Regions from separate parts of the Homo sapiens genome. Here all the other regions are linked to region 1. The links are contacts of gene promoters, found by promoter capture Hi-C in blood cells and fetal thymus (Javierre and others, 2016). All regions are on one chromosome and are shown on one strand. The core of a region is centred on a gene start or on the middle of the fragment in contact, and the rest is flanking DNA. Distances in the headings are between cores, read along the strand shown.

Evidence for each region. The method cuts DNA at HindIII sites, captures the fragments that hold promoters and counts their contacts. A CHiCAGO score of 5 or more calls a contact.
Region 2: a fragment that was not itself captured here is called in contact with the fragment with the promoter of ACO1 in region 1 in 1 of 17 cell types (M0 macrophages); the score reaches 5.5 in M0 macrophages.
Region 3: a fragment that was not itself captured here is called in contact with the fragment with the promoter of ACO1 in region 1 in 2 of 17 cell types (M2 macrophages and M1 macrophages); the score reaches 6.8 in M2 macrophages.

What each region holds. Positions count from the first base shown.
Region 1 is chr9:32,382,524-32,386,317 of GRCh38, forward strand. It overlaps ACO1 (aconitase 1), which reads left to right and starts at 2,120. Exons shown (of 21, transcript NM_002197.3): 1 at 2,120-2,212. RefSeq lists a silencer at 1,921-2,300. The HindIII fragment of the contact is 14,350 bases long and covers 102-3,794 here.
Region 2 is chr9:32,884,580-32,888,373 of GRCh38, forward strand. No RefSeq gene overlaps it. Among named protein-coding and RNA genes, the nearest start is that of TMEM215, 100 kb to the left of the region's middle. The HindIII fragment of the contact is 2,114 bases long and covers 935-3,048 here.
Region 3 is chr9:32,863,396-32,867,189 of GRCh38, forward strand. No RefSeq gene overlaps it. Among named protein-coding and RNA genes, the nearest start is that of TMEM215, 82 kb to the left of the region's middle. The HindIII fragment of the contact is 231 bases long and covers 1,714-1,944 here.

The DNA of each region.
Region 1 (3,794 bases), core at 870-3,369:
GTCCCCTCAAAGCATTCAGGAGGACCACTGTGCATTCAGAGGACACTCTCTTGCCTGCTGCCAGGTAAGACATACCTGCTTCCCCTTCTGCCATAATTGTAAGCTTCCTGAAGCCTCCCCAGCATGCAGAACTGTGAGCCAATTAAACCTCCTTCCCTATGAATTACCCAGTCTCAGGGTTCTTTACAGCAGCGTGAGAACGGTCTAATACAGACACCTTTGGAATATCCAGGTGGGGTTGCCACATATGGCTGCAAATCAAGAGTGTGAAGGTCAGAAAGTTAACTAAGACCAATGACAGAGACATAGCAGGCTTCAGCTAGAAGTGGCAGGCAGTCTGCATACTGAGAAAATAGATGAAGAAAAACTCAGCAAATGGAGAAACATATAAAGCAAGAGGAGAGAGTGTAGGGAAAGACCTTAAAAAAGAGGGACAAAAGAGGGAAGAGGTGACTCCTAAGAGCGGAGGGCTGAAAAGCCAAAAGGAGGTTAACATTTCTAGGAAAACGAATCGCCAGTGTCAAATACCACAGAGTAGTGAGTAAGGACAGGAACAGAGGACAGGCCCTGGGATTCACGATCTGCACGTCACTGGTGACAACGTCCAAGAGCAACAGACTGGGGGGATGTGGAACTATTTCCTTCACGGTTTTGACCAGCGTGCTTACTAATAAATCTCAATTCCCTTCATAGCTCTGATTTGATTGTTTTCTGCGAAGGATTCTCAGTTACACGGATGTTATCATTGAACATTAGATACTTTGCTTTCCGAATGGCTGCCTCATTAAGAATCGCAATTTAGCTGGATGTGTCCTCATCGGACTTCCCCAGCCTTCTACTCACTCTCACCTTGCCCCTACTCTCCCTACCTCCCAAGGGGACTGGAGCATGATTTTTCAGGGATTGTGGTGCACCTCTGCCATATGGTGGACATTCAAAGAAAATTTAATTACTAATGTGAATGGAAAGGATTTAGGAAGTGGGTGGGAAAACAGTCTCCTCTCATATTGGAAATACAGTTACTTCCCCTTTCAAAATAAATATAAGTATTTATATTTCAAAGTTAAATATAACTAGACGATAGTTGTACCCTATAGTGCAGTATGACAGGGAAGGTGTAGGCTTTGGTGTCAAACCAACCTAAGGACTGAGTCTCAGCTGTTGCGCATTGCACACCTGCAAAGACGGGTAATATTCTTTACTTGTAAGGTGGTTGGAAGAGCTGAACTGAATAACGTGGAAAGAGTCGATCACAGGGCTTTGTGCAGAATAGGAGGGCAGTATAAAGTAGCAGGGGGGCTATTAGTACTGGCTATTGTTTACTCATCCTATAAGCTGCTTATTCAGAAAACTACAGTAACTTTCCAAATAATTTGGGCAGGAAAACCTCACCACCTTTCATCTAGAAAGATCTAATCACTTCTTTGAACGCCATTCACCCAAGAGGGCACAACTCCTACCAACATGAAAAGCAGATCTTGTGAAAGCCCACTTGCTGCCATCTCCCAGCCATTTCTCCGACTTCAGACCGGTGAACATCGTGCATTAGAAAGTGTTGTTACATGTCCAAGGAAATCTACATATAGAACTTTTGCCACGGAAATGCTGAAGTCCTATTCTGACAGCGTGACTCCGATGTCCACTTGGCAGGCTTTGCGCAAAGAATTAAGGCGAGGGTGGAGAGGGTGGGTAGGGTGGGGACGGACAAAGTGAGAAGGGAGGCGGGCCAAGTGACCACACGTACATGAAGCCTCTCCAGTTATGGCCAAATCATTTTTTAAAAATAATTCCATTTCTTCCCCACCCTTTGGTCACTTCCTAACGCCGGCTGGGGAGTCACATGCTAAGCTCCAAAGTGAGCAACAGACACCCTCGTCCCAGGTCCCATGCTGGCAGAAGCGGACCCGGGCCGAGGGATCAGCCCTCCCACTTCCAGCGGAGGAGCCCTTCGCAACCCTAGCCTCCAGCCCGGGGCGAAGTCCTCCAGGCCCGCGGGGGCGCCCGCAGGCTCCGCCCCTTCTTCGGCTAGCTGCCCGTCCGTCCCGCCCCTGCTCCGCCCTTCCCGCCCCTGCTCCGCCCATCGCGCGGCGGCCCCGGGGGCGAGAGGGGGCGGAGCGTGGAGGCGGCAGCTGGAACCGCGCAGCGCACGGGAACGCGTCCCGCTGCTTGGGTCAGGTTCGCCGGTCGCGGGAGCCCCGCCGTGCAGTCGGAGGTGAGTACCGACGCGGCCCGACCCACGTCCCCAGGCGGGAGCGCCGTCCACCCTGTATCCCTCGAGAGTCGGTGCGGGCCTTTACCGAGGTGCCCGAGGCAGTGGCGGCACGGGGGACACGGAGGCGAGCTTGGGGAGGCTGAGAGGAGAATCGGGGACGTGTTTCTGGCGACTGACGTCTCCACCCTGTCCCCAGTCTATGTCATGCCGGGGAGAGAAACCAGGGATTGGAAGTGGCTTTCCTAGACCCTTCTTAGCCTTGGCTGTGCGTGCTGTCCTGAAAGTCCTTGCCTAGGGTGTGCGGCCAGTCCTGGGAGTCCTAACCCCGAGGGTGTGAGGCCCGCACTGGGAGTCCTCGCCCAGGCCCGGCTGGCTGGATAGGGAAACCCTTGCTAAAGTTGTGCGGGCAGATCCGGGAATCCACTCCAAGGGGTAAAGGGAAAATGGGATGAGGGGGAAGAGACCCTTCGTGGGAGGCTTGAACACAGAGCCCACCATGATAGATTCAGAGATCTAGAAAGGAGCTTGGGCTGCAGTTATGACCAAGTCATTTTTTTCTAGATTCAGCTAGCACATCATAATGGCATCTTCCTTCTTGCAACACATGTAACTCTCTTCCCTGGGGGACAACCTCTAGGACAGAAGTCCCCAAACTTTTCTGGTACTCAGTACTCCTTTACACTCTTAAAAATTAGTATCTTAAGGAGCTTTTATGTGTGTTATATCTATCCATATTTATAATATGTAAGTAAGACTGAGAAATTTGTACTATAATAATTCATTTAAAAAGAATAGTGAACTAATTATATCTTAACATTGCCTATTTTTATGAAAAAGAACTATATTTCCCAAAACAGAAAATGATTGAGAAGAGTGGCATTGTTTTACATTTTTGCAAATCTCTTTGATGTCAAGCGTAATTGAAGACAGCTGGATTCTGATAGCTGCTTCTGCAGTCTGTTGCAATATCACATATCATGTAGCCTCTTGAGACCTCCACTGTATACTCCTGAAAATGTGTGAATGAAAAAAAGCAAGTAACATTTTATTACTAGGAAAATGGTTTTGACTTTGGAGATCCCTAGGAGTTCTCTGCACCACACTTTGAGGATGCTGGTGTAGGAAATGCTTCAGAGGCTTCATTCATTGGGCCTGCTTCTTGTTTGTGATCCTTCCTCTGATTGGGAACACACACCACCTCATGCCATGGACAGTATTAACCTCTGGTATCTGGAACCAAGTTTGATCTCACTTTGGAAACCATGTACTAGGTCCCCACGTGAGGCTGTGATGAACCTTGCCAGCCTCCTGAAAAGTCAGCAAGGCTTCGCACATGCCTTTGGTTGTCTCTGTGCTTGCAGAGCTGACCTGTCTGTGCATCAGGATTACAACAGTGATGTGGCAAACAGGACCTGTAGGCTCACAAAAGTGCCAGTGGGGAGACCATGCCAAGTGTGTAGGGGTTCCTGTGAGAGTTACCAAGTAGTCAGGAAGTTATTTCCAAAAGAACAAGGAGGCATGCTTTTGCCTTCCCTTGCACGTGTTCATTTCTGTTTGCAGTTGCATGGTTATTAGCCTTGAG
Region 2 (3,794 bases), core at 742-3,241, 500 kb after region 1:
AATATAACACTTGAATAGGGCTGAATGTTTGTATAGAAACTATTAACTTGACTAACAGTTTGAAATGATCCCACTTTGATCTTTAGCAACCCTATGTGATAAGTCAAGCTGGGGACACATCTGCATTTTGTAGATAAGGAAAGGGAAATACAAAGAGATTCAGTGACTTACTCAAAGTCACACAAGTAATAATCAGCACGAGGACTTCAAGTCTGATCTTCTGACTCTACTCCTTGGCCCTCTGCAACCTCCCAGCCTCAATAAAACACTGGGAGGGGATGCTTCCAGGTCACACACCTCCTGTGACAGCCTCTTTGTTATGTTGCCCTGGAGAGCCACCTGCTCCAGTCCCATGGAGTGCCATAGAATTGTCTTATCCCTCTTTCACATACAGACCTTCTACTTCTTGAAAACAGTAATCCTGTACCCTTTAAATCTTTTATTCCTGAGCTAAACATCAGAGTCAAATTCCCTGAGAGCTATTTTATCTGTGAGGCACACGAAACTCAGTGGCTAGGGTCCATTGCTTTTCAGGGGCCTATGGAAAAAAAAAAAAAAGGTTCCAAGATACAGATAACAAAATTGAAATTAATAGCCATTTAATTAACTACCTGAAAAATGTAACATTATGTCAATGTCATTGTTAAATTTATTATTCATTTATAAATTTATTACAGGTGAGAACACTTGTAGATTAGATTCTCTTGTTTTGCAAGAATTCCTGAGTAGGCACACTGATTGATTTATGCCTACTCGGGAGAGTAGACACAGACAATTGTAAATTGAATAATCATGTATAGGCAAATAACTTCAAAGGCAAAAATATAAAAATCCCTTCAACATTTTTATGGAAAATTTTACATTTAATTCAAGATGTGGGTGCATTTTAATTCGTTTGATCTAAGTGATGATGCCTCCAAAAGAGTCTACATAAAGCTTAAAATGGTCCTGAGTCTTCCATGGCCTAAATTTCTCCATGTAGGCCAACATAACTTTTAGTAAAATTGCTCCTTGTGGCTTCACAGTTTATGTAATTTCTTCTAGTTGCTGAATTTGACCAGTAAATTGAACCCCATTTACATTTGTTTGGAAGAAAATGAAGTTTCTGGGAGCACTCTGGGTCCTGCCACAATTCCACCAACATGACCTATCATGTTGTCAGAAGCGTCCTCTCTCCACACCACACAAATCTAATCTCTTCCAGACATGATGAGAAACTGCTGTAACTCTGGCAAAAGAGCCACTGAAGTCAGCCACATTGCCAAGGGCACGGTTTTAATTGCCTCAAGGAGCCCTGGGGTGCACGGGCAGCACCCTAAATATATTGTAGGTTAAAACCATCTTGCATCCAGACACAGACTGTTAATTCTGTTAAACTTCTTCTATTCAAGTGATATGCCAGGTATCGAAAATGGGCAATTCTTTAAAGGTGCAACGGCTCTGTGAGTGCTCCTTTCACAGGGCCTAACGTGAGACCATCTGGCACAAAGGCTTCATCTGTGATGCCCTCAGAAGTCACCAAGAGGAAAAGCTGGGAGGATCTGCTTGTGAATTCCTAGGGCCGGTAATGATGACAAACCTGCTTTCTAGAGGGCTGGGCCTATGGGTCTTGGCTTCAATCTCAGGCCTGCGGGAAGTCGTGGGGAGCTGGATGATTGAGGCAATAGTACTGATGGTCTCTGCCAAAGCCACAGCCAATTCTAGAACTGGCTTCCCTGCTGGGAAGATGAAAGCCTGAGTTTTATCTGGGTTCTAGGAGGACCTCCAGAGTTCCTCTTCCTTAGGCAGGAAACAAAGCAAGCTCTTAAAGGGGGCAGGGTAGGGAACATGGGGCTCTGCATCAAGGTGTGTGTAGAAAAAGCTGCTACCCAAAGCTACTCTGTTCTCAGAGGCTCAGCATCCTGAATGAGGATGCATTTGCCTCACAAAAGCCCTGTCTCAGTCAAGCCCTTTGGAGTCTATCCAAGGTGACCACCTGCCCTATCTTCTAAGTCTACTTGTTCCATCTCTGTGCTTCAAACCTGAGTTTGCCTCTGTCCCAGCCCTTCAGATTGATGTTCAGATCAGCTTGGGTCTAGTCTCTGGCTTCTCTGATGCTGTCTGCAGGCTTCCCTGTACTCCCAAAGCCAGTCCTGACTCTAAAACCCAGCCAGGCCTGCAGAGCTTCACCATCTCTGGTTGTCCAGGCAAAAACTCTGAATGCTGTAATGCAGAGATCACTAGAGCTTCTATGTAGAGACTCAGCCAAGACCCTTGAAGAAGGGAGACAAGTTTGGCCATGAAACAATAAACCACCTTTAGAAACTCAACAGCACTTATTGGGTGCCTGTGGAATGGTGCTAGGCACTGTGGGTACAGCAAGCTCTGCCTTCACAGAGCTTAGAGTCACCTTCAGACCTGCTGAACAGACACTCCGCTTCCTTACCTTCTGCTGGTAGCATGGTGTTTAGGCTTCCAGGGCAGCTTACCTCTTTCCAGTTCTGATATGGGCAATAAGAGAAGTCACACCTGTGTGGACCAACACCACCGGGAATAGCAATAAAACAAGGGATCAGACAACCAAGGTACATTCCATCCCTTCCAGCTGATTCTTTCTAGTTTATGCATTGTTGCTCTGGGAACCCCAGGATCTATGGGTATCTTCAGCACAGATCCATGAAGTTGCAGCTGTAGAGCAAAAGGAAAAAATATATAATACACGATAAATACCCTAGGGCTGTTTGGTGTACTAAACATTGAACTTGATCTTTCCACTGGAATAAGGAGAAGTAATTTACCTCATTAGAGAGTACATGGCAGCAAGAAAAATATAGCTCATGAACCATATTTATTTTCCATTAATCTTAAAACAACATCCCTCATCCAGATTAAAATACTCAAAACCAAGGGCGTATGATTGATTAAAGAGAAACAACCCTGAATCATGGGGTTGATTCCTGGAGGGGTAAAACAAGGAGACAGATTATTTGCTCTCTTATTACAGATTCCAAGATAAAACTCCTCCCACCTATGACCATGGATGGATACTGGCATCTCTGAATCTTTCAAAGCTTGGAATATCTAACTTAAATCTTTCCACAGTATCATTTAATCCTTATTCTCTTATGCTACCCTCAGTGATATTAAATTTTGAAGATTAATACACATTTTTAGGTGGTAGACCTTAAAAACCAAGAGCCGATTTAACATTTTTCAATCTTAAATTATTCTTAAATTGGGAACTTCATGGTCTTCTCTATATTTACTGCGATCAGGTGTGCCTCACTTTGTAGAATAAATGCATCCCAGAAGGTTCACCTTTAAAGTGAACTTTCCCCCTCTGAGAGTCATATAAAACCAATCCCAAGACAAAATGAAACCATCTTCAATGATTAAATCCTTTTTTAATCATGCATTTTAAAGGAGAAATTTTTGATAAAATAATAATACACTTATGAAAACAAAGTTTCTTTTGTCTGGCAGGATCACTTCTAGAGATAAAGGAAAAAACAGCAATTATAGCTTAAGAACAGAACATCCTAGACTAAAAATTCACTCAGCTTTTATCAAATCTCTTCACTGTCATTGTACAAGAGAATAACAGGAAATTCTCTTTGGGTGCTCAGACCTTGTTTCCTAGCAATCTATGGAGGCTGAAGGCTCTTAAGAATAAGCAATAGAGCTAAGATCGGGGAAGGGTAGAGACCAAGGTCCCAAATATGAGAGGAAGTGGACCAATGAGGCAATCATGAGAAGGGGGCCTTCCTCATATGTGTTCAGTGTTACCTGTTATCCAATTTAAAGTCAGGCTTTAG
Region 3 (3,794 bases), core at 579-3,078, 480 kb after region 1:
CTGTAATTTGCTGACATCCCCATCCCTCCCCAACACTAGCCTTTTGTATAGTTCCATAAATGATAGCTATTGTCAAAACCAAACAGACCGTGTCTAAAAAGTGATTCCGGAAGGAAACATACTCTGTTGCTAGGAAAGCATGTATACCAATATGATGCTTTTCCCTTTGCCTGAAATTTTACAAACTCAGCAACCATCAATCACATAGTCAGTAGATTTTAGCTTCCCACGGTACATTTTGCACTGATGAAGATAGGCCATTCCTTATGCAACGTCCAGGCAAAGAAAACCTGGACATGCCAAAGGACTCCATGTGAGCTGAGAACAGGACTCAGGCCTCCAATGTTCTTAGAAAGGTGATACTTTAATCAATTCCAGAACAAAAATAATAAACTTTTGCAACAAAAACAAAGCTCCCTACATCTTTTAGGAGGAACTTACATATCATAAATAATTGACTTCTCAATATGCACCCACAACAAATATGAATAGAGAAAAGGAAAAGAAGGAGTTAGAAGAAGAAATTAAGAAAAAGAAAGAGAAGAACATGGAGGAGAAGGAAGAGAGAAGCATAGTATCACACACATGTATTTTTAGAAAGTCTTCGAGTTCAGTTTTCTTAGAGTTCTATTCGGCTCCACCTCATTTGCTTCCTGAACCTGAAAGTGTTTCTAAAAGGAAAGTGTCATCCAGAAGAGTAGCTAACAGGATCCAAGTCTGTCTGCCTTACATCCCCACAGCTACCACCAAAGCACCTTATCTGGAATGTTGTAGTGCCAATCCCGATTCAAGGCAGAAGGGGTTTCAAGACCTCCAGCCTAATACTGTTGGACTCAGTGAGGATTACCCCCCCTTCTGGGCCATCATCAATTTTGTGCCCACATAAATTCTGGCTTGACCTGCTGGCCTGGCTTGAACTCCTGGCCTGTTCTCCACTTGTATCCCAGAGTTCAGGTAATCAAATCTCTGTAGCTGATCATATTTGAGAAGAGGAAGGGAAATGCCAATCAAAACCACAATGAGATGTCATCTCATTCCAGTTAGAATGGCTACTGTCAAAAAAAACAAGAAGAAGAAATGTCTACCCTTCCCCAGCTCACCGCCAGTAGGAAACCTTCCAAAGCCCATTTCCCATCCCCAGTCTGGGCTAGATGCCACTCCTGTGCACCTGACATACCCCTAGGAACTCTATCGCTGTTCTGTAACTCTGCTTATTTGCCTTCCCCAATGGACCAAGACATTCTTGAAGGCAGAAAATCTTTCTCATTTATTTTTATTACCTACAGTGTCTAGCATAGTGTTTCTTAGATTAATTAATTAGACCTACTGCTCGTCTTGTCAGGACTATTTGCTGTGGCCTATAGCTACGCCAAACAATGTTCTAAACAGAATGTTCTACTTAGCCAGGTCTCCTCTGGGCACCAGTTGGGGGAGAGGGACCTCATTCAAAATCCTATTTCCTCTAGTCTTCCCTGTCTAGGTATACCAACCTGCCCATCCATGCCACAAGATATAACACAAGATATTGCATTCACTTCCAGGATAATTGATTCCAAGATAACGCATTCACATGGCAATGAGCCTTAGGAATGTTGATCAAAGAAGGGCTTAGTTGTAGGAGTTCACTGGTTGTGACTCCTACCACTCAAATGTCTGGCTCCTACCAAAATCCCCAGTTGAAAGAGATGTTATCATTGAGCAGAACATCCATCAAGCTTCCCTTTGGGCAGTATTCCATCACAATAACCACATCTGGCAGTGCAATACAGCCTCCAGTGAATCTGCAGATGTTTGGATGATCTAATTCTCTAGAAAAACCAATACAGATTAGAAAGGATTTCTCTGGGACATGATCTCCTAATTCCCACTTTAAAATCTGACCTAGTTTTTCTGACCACATAAAGAAACAAATATCCCCCTGGATTTAGTGTTGTGCAAAAATAAAGCTTGCAAATCCACCCACTGTGATGCAGGGTAAAGCACTTAGAAAAAAACATAATCGTCATCAAAATTCATTCTGGGCCAGAACTTTACATTCAATATCTGTAATTTGTGCAACAACCCTGACTGGTGGCTATAACTGTCCTCACTCTAAGTGAGGAAACCAAGGCTCAGAGAAGTGACGTAACTTAGCCAAGGTCCCCCTGATAGGTAATGGAGCTAGATCCTAAACCTAACTTGGCCTAATTCCCAAATTCATTCACGGTGTTTTTCAATCATTGCCATAGTGCATTCCAATATAAAATACAAATACAAAAAGAAGAGTTCTTACACTGGGAGAGTTGAATTTTCTTCACAAATAATATTGTTTCAGAAACAAAAGGCAATTTTCACAAGCCAAGTAGTCACAGACTTTTCAGTCTCTCCACGCCAACCTCTCATATGTTTGTTTTTCTTTAAGTTGGATTCACCCAACCCCCACCCCAGGGAAAGAGTAGGCTCCCTAAATCCCAGGCTTGCAGCTGGCATTTCAGCGTGGTCATTACTACATCTGCACCATCAGCACAGAGGCACAGGTGCTGCCTTGCATAAACCAAAGATTGATTTGCAGGTTATCCATGAGGAGCTTTCCAGTCATAACATTTTTCTCCAATCAAGATTCCAGTATCCTTTATGCAAGTACACAGGCAGTAGGGGAGGGAAAATATCTACTGTCTTTTCAGCTTAAGTTTGCTTCCCCAATCATCACATCTCGAATTACTTCGCAAGACATTCTCCAAGGAATAGCACAATAGCAGTACTTTTCAGAACTGATGCCAGGGAGGGGAGGAATGTTTATGCTTGTAGTAAGTCCCAGCTGGTAGATGAAGGGCCTTTTCCCCACTCTTCAGAGTGGAATTCTCTGGTATCTCCTACCCCTTACTCACTTCCCACCAAGGAAAGGAATCATCGGTGAGTGGGAGTTCACACTCACTATGTCACCATTACTGGTGGGCGGCATCACTGTGGTAAAGACCATCTCTTCCATTACTGCTCCCACATGGTAAGCACCACTGGGCAGTTCCTCCTCTGTGGGAAGAGCTGCTGTTCTTGTTCTACCTACAACTGGGGTGGGTGAGGTAGGCCCATAGTCCTGGTGTGTAGGTGGTCAGATAAGTGACTTTATGTCTGCTCTGCAGGCCAAGCTGCTCACATGCCCACTCGCTCGTCTGGCTGAGCATGTGGGTCTAATGACTCAGATGTGGTCTCTGTGGTAGAAGCATGCACTTCAGCATCTGGCTCTCCAATCCAGCTTTTAGCAGAATTTGCTTTGAATATCAGGGACTTGATACTGAGGACAAGTGTTACTTTCTTCTCTTGCTATTATTCCTTATGTGTTCTTCCCATTGGTCAGAAGCAGAAAGGGAAGAAGAGATGAATAGCAACCTGAACATTTAACAACTGAGAGCTCTTGCAAACCAGGCTCTGAAAATATTCTCTATCAACATTAGAATGGCACCAAGTCAAGGGCACATGAGGAAACCCCTCCCAACTGCAGGATGAGATGTCTGAAATACCTGACGTAGAGCATATTAAGAGAACAATTATCTGTGTCCAGCTTTATCATCTATAATATATGTTTTATACACTCATCAAGCAAAGATGCTTTAGTTTGCTGAACCCAGTGAATCACAGAGACTTTTGCAAATGTGAAGAAATAGTATGTAGCTGCAGGATACTGCAGGCTCCTTTGCTAACTGGAAGATTAGTTGCTGTATTTTGCAAAACCCCAAACTTCAACCCAACCCATTCTCTCTTAACCAAGATAAACTGCCGTCAACCCAGCATCTTCCTCTTCCATTCCCTACCCATTT